Regions from separate parts of the Homo sapiens genome. Here region 1 is linked to region 2. Evidence: promoter capture Hi-C in human tissues and cell types (Jung and others, 2019). All regions are on one chromosome and are shown on one strand. Each heading gives the region's core, a stretch centred on a gene start or on the middle of the fragment in contact. The rest is flanking DNA. Distances are from core to core; before and after follow the strand shown.

The links. Contacts are between HindIII fragments. The study calls those that stand out against the background at their distance.
Region 1: a contact is called between a fragment that was not itself captured here and the fragment with the promoter of FERMT1 in region 2, in 1 of the 25 tissues and cell types used here (mesenchymal stem cells).

Annotation. Positions count from the first base shown.
Region 1 is chr20:6,984,709-6,988,646 of GRCh38, forward strand. No RefSeq gene overlaps it. Among named protein-coding and RNA genes, the nearest start is that of BMP2, 220 kb to the left of the region's middle. The HindIII fragment of the contact is 4,686 bases long and covers 31-3,938 here.
Region 2 is chr20:6,121,060-6,124,878 of GRCh38, forward strand. It overlaps FERMT1 (FERM domain containing kindlin 1), which reads right to left and starts at 1,971. Exons shown (of 15, transcript NM_017671.5): 1 at 1,715-1,971. RefSeq lists a silencer at 1,857-1,976. The HindIII fragment of the contact is 15,378 bases long and covers 1-3,819 here.

The sequences.
Region 1 (3,938 bases), core at 1,124-3,623, 860 kb after region 2:
CTTTAGCCAGAAAAGATAGGGGGCCTATATTCAGCAGTCTTAAAGAAAAGAAATTCCAACCAAAAGTTTCATATCCAGCCAAACTAACTCACAAGTGAAGGAGAAATAAGATCCCTTTCAGAAAAGTAAATGTTAAAGAAATCCATGACCACCAGACCTGCCTTCTAAGAGGTCCTTAAGGGAGTGCTAAACATAGAAGAGGAAGACCATTACCAGCCACCACAGAAACACACTTAAGTACGTAGACCATCCACGCTATAAAGCAACCGTACAATCAAGTCTTCATAATAACTAGCTAACAACACAGTGAAAGGATCAAACCTGAACATATCAATATTAATCTTGAAAGTAAACTGACTAAATGCCCCTATTAAAAGGCACAGACTGGCAAGTTGGATAAAGAAGCAGGACTCCACTGTATGTTGTCTTCAAGTGACCCATCATACATACAATGACATTCACAGGCTCGAAGTAAAGGGATGGAAAAAAAATCTAAGCAAATGGAAAACAGAAAAAAGCAGGAGTTGCTATTCTAACTTCAGACAAAACAGACTTTAAACCAGCAATGATTTAAAAAGACAAAGAAGCACATGACATAATGGTAAAGGGTTCAATTCAACAAGACCTAACTATCTTAAATACCTATTACCCAACACAGGAGTGCCCAGATTCATAAAACAAGTTGTTAGAGACCTATAAAGAGACTTGGATAATCACACAAAAATAGTGGGGTACTTCAGCATCTCACTGACAGTATTAGACAGATTACTGAGGCAGAAAATTAACAGACATTTAGGACCCGAATTTGACATTTAACCAAATGGACCTAACAGACATCCACAGAACTCTCTACCCTCAAATTCCAGAATATTCGTTCTTCTCATCTGTACATGGCACATACTCTAAAATTGACCACACAATTGTTCATAAAATAATCCTCAGCAAATTTTTAAAAAATGAAAATATATTAACCATGTTCTCAGACAACAGCACAATAAAAACTGAAATCAATACTAACAAATAGCTCAAAACAATATAATTACATAGAAATTAACCAGCTCCTGAATGACTTGTGTGTAAACAATAAAATTAAGGTAGAAACCAAACTAATGCAGGAAGAGAAAATTCTTAGAAACTAATGAGAACAAAGATACAACATAACAGAATCTGTGGGATGCTAAAGCAGTGTCAAGAGGGAAGTTTATAGTGCTAAACACTTACATCAAAAAATTAGAAAGATCTCAAATTAACAACCTAACATCACATCTAGAGAAACTGGAGAAACAAGAGAAAACCAACCCCAAAGCTTGTGGAAAGCAGTTTTGAGGCTTTTCTCAAAAGAACTTATAACAATTGGCTGGGTGCGGTGGCTCACGCCTGTAATTCCAGCACTTTGGGAGGCCAAGGTGGGCAGATCACCTGAGATCAGGAGTTCGAGACCAGCCTGACCAATATGGAGAAACACCGTCTCTACTAAAAATACAAAATTAGCTGGTCACTGTGGTGCATGCCTGTAATCCCAGCTACTAGGGAAGCTGAGGCAGGAGAATCACTTGAACCCAGGAGGCGGAGGTTTTGGTGAGCTGAGATTACGCCATTGCGCTACAGCCTGGGCAACAACAGTGAAACTCTGTCTCAAAATAAAGAAACAAAAACAAAAGCAAAAACAAAATTACTATTTGACCCATCAATTTCATTACTGGGTGTGTATTCAAAAGAAAATAAATTGCTTTACCGATAAGACACACGCACTTGTGTGTTCATTGCAGCACTATTCAGAAGAGCAAAGAGCAAAGACATGGAATCAACCAAGGTGCCCATTAACAGTGGATTGGGTAAAGAAAATGTGTACATACACACCATGAAATACTACACAGCCATAAAAAAACAACAAGATCTTGACCTTTTCAGGAAAATCGATGCAGTGGGAGGCCATTATCCTAAGCAACCTAACACAGGAAGAGAAAACCAAATACTGCATATTCTCACTTATAAGTGGGAGCTAAACACTGAGTATCCTTGGACACAAATACGGGAACAACAGACACTGGGGCGTACTTGAGGGTGGAGGTTGGGAAGAGGGTGAGGGTCAAAAAACCGCCACCACTATGCTTATTCCCTGGGTAATGAAATAATCTGCCCAGCAAACCCCTGTGACACGCAGTTTACCTATATAGGAGATCTGCACATGTACATTGAACCTAAAATAAAAGTTAAAAACAAAAAAAGCCAGTCACAAAAGTTAAAGAAACAAAAAGTTCAGGTTAAAGATAAAATTTTGAGAAAAAAACTGGGCCTTTAAACATTTAGGGATGGTGGTGGGCAAGGCTATCTTGCTAGGAGAAGGAAAGTAAAAAGTACAGCTTGAACTATAAGAGCAAAAAGGGTATGGGCATTAACAGAAAATGAATGCTTTTATTTCCAAATGGTAGAATAGATAAAGCATTTTTTGACATCTTCTCCACAGGTTGTCAAAAAGTAAAAAAAAAAAAAAAAAAAAAATAGTGGGAAATTTTGTGTATTAGTTCATTATTGCATTGCTTTAATAAAATACCTGAGACTGGGTAACTTATTAAGCAAAGACATTTAACTGTCTCACAGTTCTGCAGGCTTTACAGGGAGCATGGTGCTGGCATCTGCTCAGCTTCTGGTGAAGCCTCAGGGAGATCTCAATCATGGCAAAAGGCAAAGCAGGAGCAAACACATCACATGGCAAGAACAGCAGTGGGGGCCGGGTAGGTGCCACACACTTTTCAACCACTAGATCTCGTGAGAACTCACTAACACAAAGATAGCACCAAGACATGAGGGATCCACCCTTGTGATCCAAACACTTCCCACTCCTAATACCTGCAAGAGCCTTGGAAGTTTATTCTCTAGAGAAATTGGACTAGAAAAATCTCAGTGATTAGGAATGAGGAGCCCCGAAGAGGATAAGCTGGAGGTTTTGTGTTGATTATAATACCATGAAGTAGAAGTCTTTAAATCAAAAGGTGAGAACTACCTTTCCTGCCTGTAGTCCTGCCTTTAGATATACCCCTTCCCAGACATAACATTGGAGGTTAATTTTGTGGAGCACCAAAATGATCTACAGAAAGAATACCAGGAGATTCATAGTTTTGAGCTAGCAGCAAAGATGCTAGTATCTCTACTTGGTTCTATGCAAAGATGCAGCCATCTTTTCATCTAATCACCTGAGAGTCAACCTCCCCTATGTACAAACCCCACAAACATAAATAAAGCTTCCATTCAACTATTTGTTGTTTTACTGTTAAGTAAATGGATGAACAAGCAACATCAGCCATTTGAGGAAATCCTACTACAGGGAAGATATGGAACATAACAAACAAGAACAAAGAAGTCTGAAAAAGAAGACGTAATATAGGGAAGAAAAGACTGCTTTAAAGAAATTCTTATTAATCATGTTAAAAAGATATATAAAGATATTATAACCATTGCATATTAAAATGTTGTCAAAATGGAACAAAGAATAGAATGAGATCTTGTAAATTAATAATAGGATTAAAATTTTAAAAAAAGAAGTTTTGGAAAATAAATTTGAGGGAAATGTCCAAATTATAGAAATAAAAAGAAAATGAGATGTGTTATAGCAGTTATAAGAATACTATCAGATGATTCTAGGTGACCTAATACGCAGTTACTAAGTGTTTGAAAAGATGAGAACAGAAAAAATAGGGAGGAGGACATTATCAACAAAATAATGTAAGAAAATTTGTCAGGTACTAGCCATGAGTGGTAGCACACACCTCTAATTCCAGCTACTCAGGAGGCTGAGGTGAGAGGATCGCCTGAGTCCAGGAGTTCAAGAAGCCAGCCTAGCAACAATAGCAAGAATCTTTCTCTCAAAAATATAAAATTAAATTAAAAAAAAGAAAATTTGTCAGTGCTAAGGGCATTGAACTTTTCCACCAAGTATT
Region 2 (3,819 bases), core at 721-3,220:
AGGACAGATTTTATGGGTGAGGATGAAATTCAAGAGTTCAGAAGTAGCTCCTTATGTTTTTGTTTTGTTTTTGTTTTTTTTGAGATGGAGTCTTGCTCTGTCACCCAGGCTGGAGTGCAGTGGCATGATCTTAGCTCACTGCAACCTCTGCCTCCCGGGTTCAAGCAATTCTCTGCCTCAGCCTCCCAAGTAGCTGAGATTACAGGCGTGTGCCACCACGCCCGGTTAATTTTTGTATTTTTAGTAGAGACAGGGTTTCACCATGCTGGCCAGGCTGGTCTTGAACTCCTGATCTCGTGATCCACCTGCCTTGGCCTCCCAAAGTGCTGGCATTACAGGCGTGGGCCACCACGCCCAGCCGTTCCTTATGTTTCTATAGTCAGAAGCATGCAACGATGCAATGCATCTCCTCCCCATGCACAGAGATCCACACAGAACCCTCTGCATGAGGAGTGCCACTCAGTGACTGCATTAGGCCTAACTGCTTGCCTCTGTCATCATCAGCTTCAGGTATCATTTATTACCTACTGACTGTATGATGTGCTCTGTGTTAACTCCTGTCTTCTGTTATCCCTTTTTCATCCTCTCAGCAATCTCATTTAGAAATGAGGAAACTCAGCCTCAGAGAGATGAAGCAAGTTGCCTGAGGTCACACAGCAAGTTAGATGCTGGAGCCCAGGTGGAAATCCAGGTCTGCCTTTCTATTTCAAACTCTTATTCACCACACTGGGAAACCACTTTGATAATGTTGCAATGCCAAAATGAAAGAAAACTCCTCAAACTACGTGAACTAAATTCTCAGTAGCCTTTACTAAGCATTTCTATCAACACAAATCTTGCGCAGTGAGGAGACAAAAGATGCCCCTTCATCGTCAAACTCATAACTTGGCATTGAACTGTTCGACTTTAAGATCCTTACAATTTCTTAAATGCTATAATTGTGAAGTCTAGTTATTTAAAATGTTTTGTATATAAAGAAAATAACTTTTAAAGGTGATTCCTTACTGCTTATTTCACTGGGCAATCTGATATAAGGTCTTTTCCTAACTTGGGTGATCAAAACACTACTCATTCAGGCAATAGATGCTGATTCCCCTTACAACAAAATGCAGGCTAAAATTAGCCAAGCTGGTTTTCCTGCATTCCTTTCCTATCTTTCTGTGCCTTCATTTTTGAGTGAACGTCTAGTCTGCAGCAAGCTGTTACTTGTCAAGGATAGCAGCAAACTTCAGCCGGGAAAACGCATCTAAGGAGACCAAAACAAGAAGCAAAGTTACTGGCAGAGTGCTGAAAAGCCCTTCGCAGACAGTCAAAGAAACGAAAGCATGGAGGGATGGAGAGCAGGAAGGAGGAAAGATGAGGGGGAAACAGTCCCCGACCCTTCCCCTGGAATATCTGAAGGTGCTTGGTGTTCGAAGGCCACCCGACCTGTCTTTTGCCAGCTCTGCAGGATCCTGGGGCGGATGTTGGGTGGATAAAGCATGCCCCTTACTCCCATTAAGGCAGCACCTGCGGCTGAACTGAAAGTTTATTTTGCGGCCAGATGCGTAGGGCCGGAGAAGGTGGTCACATCCAGACGAAATTATTTTCAATCAACAGCTATTTAAGTACAAGAGGCTGCAGAAAGAAAGGGGCTAAGGGGGCTCAGGAGCCACTGGTGCCCATGAAAGCCTCCCAACCTCTAGCTCCCCAGCCCTAGCTCCGGAGCACCCACCTCCTTTCCAGGAGCCCGTAGCGTCCAGCCTCGCAGTCGCGCACGTGGAGAGCTGCGTCCCTACAAACTACCCCGGGCCGAGCCGAGGAGCGGGCGCTGGCGAAGTGGGGAGCGGGGGGCGCCCAGTGGCGGCGGCTGCTCAGCTAAGGCTGCGGCAGGTGAGGGCTGGAGCCAGGGCGAGCAGGCGAAGCTGCCTCGGGACCTCCCACGGAGGCTCGGTGCCTGCCCCCAGCCTGGCGCGGCGTGCCCGGTGCACTGCACGGCCCCAGCGGCCCGGCTGAGGGCAGCGCGCAGCGTGGCAGGCGAGGGCACGCCCAGCCCCGGGCCTGCTAGGTCTCGCTCCCGCGGAGAGGAGGCGCAGTCTGCAGATTTTTAAGGGCAAAGGGTGGCCGAAGGGCTGCTCGGCGGAGAGAAGGCGGCGAGAACCCGGGGCGCACGCTCAGTATCTGCAGCTCCTCTTGCGATGTCTCATCCTGACGCTTTAAGGCCGCCTCCAGTTTCCCTGTTCCCCCAGGCCCGCCGGGGACTAGCCCAGATGATTAAAGCCGCGCCACTTCCCCTCCTTTCAGGCATACCCATCACTCACACCCCGGGGTGCGTCCAGGCCCAGGAGACTCCAGCCTCCCGCCTAGAACAGCTGCCTCCCTCAGAAAGAGCCCCGGAGCACTTGTGGTCAGGGAGGTGAAGGCAACGACAAAACGATTCGTCTCTGAGTAAGAGGGTGGTGTCAGTCTCCAGAAGGCTGAGGCTCCCGACCAGGGGAGACTCCAGGAGACCCAAGGGCAGGCTGCATGCGGAAGTCTGGGCCACACCTGGTATGGCTCACCTCAGGATCACCACCGGTCCCGCCAGTCGCCTTCCTGTTGGATTTATTTTCAAAGAGGGCTGGGGCCACCCAGGAAGGGTGGGTGACCTGGGCAGTTTACACAACCTCTCCAAGCCTCCTTTGTTCATTTAATCACATTTGTTGAGTGCTTACTGCTCTACAGGCCTCCCAATGGGCCTGGGCTCAGAGAATACAGTGGTTAATAAAACAGACATGGAAATGACAGTTTCCTCATCTGTGAAATAGGTACAGAGATAGAATGCGTGCTCTTCCACGGAGGGATTTCATGCAATATAGTACAGGCTTTAGCGATTTGCATTAAAAGGCTTGTGAACACTTAAATTTTAATAAAGAAGTTATAAAATTTAGAAGTTGAATCTGTTTTCGCTTAAACATTACCATATTCAGGAATTATTATGGGTTTGAAAGTACATTTAATTTAAAAAGGTTAGTTGAACATTGTTGGCAAATATAGGATATTATAATTGAAATAAAATCATTAAAAACTTGAAACAGAATGTCTTCACTTGGTAGCGTTTGTCAACGATGGGAAGGGTCATCTGGTCCCACTTCCCTACCTCTTAACATCATGAAACCCTGCTTATGGCCCATTAGAACTTAGACTGTGGTCAGTGCGCGCGCGCGCGCGCGCACAAACACACACACACACACACACACACACACACACACACATATATTTTTTTGAGATGGAGTCTTGTTCTGTCCCCAGGCAGGAGTGCAGTGGCACGATCTTGGCTCACTGCTGCACCCTCCGCCTCCCGGGTTCAAGTGATTCTCCTGCCTCAGTCTCCCGAGCAGCTGGGACTACAATTTTTGTATTTTTAGTAGAGACCAGGTTTCATGATGTTGGCCAGGATGGTCTTGATCTCTTGACCTTGTGATCTACCTGCCTCGGCCTCCCAAAGTGTTAAGATTACAGGTGTGATCCACCGTGCCCAGCCTGTGGTCAAGATTTTATGTGTGACCTTGAATTATGGCTCTATCTATTCATACCAATATGGTTTTTCTCTTTTCAATTGAAAATATCTGCATTGTGCTAAAGAATTCGACTGGTTTTAAGCGTTCTTCTTGGCCTAGGTTAATTTTTAAACTTGTAATTTTATGTAGTGACTTGTGTGTATATAAATGTGTATCATATATATACACACCCATACATATACACAATATATATAGATAAGAGCACAAATCGTGAATGTATAGCTGATGAGTTTTCGCAAACTGAACACACCTGTATACAGAGTATATAAAGACACTAGCG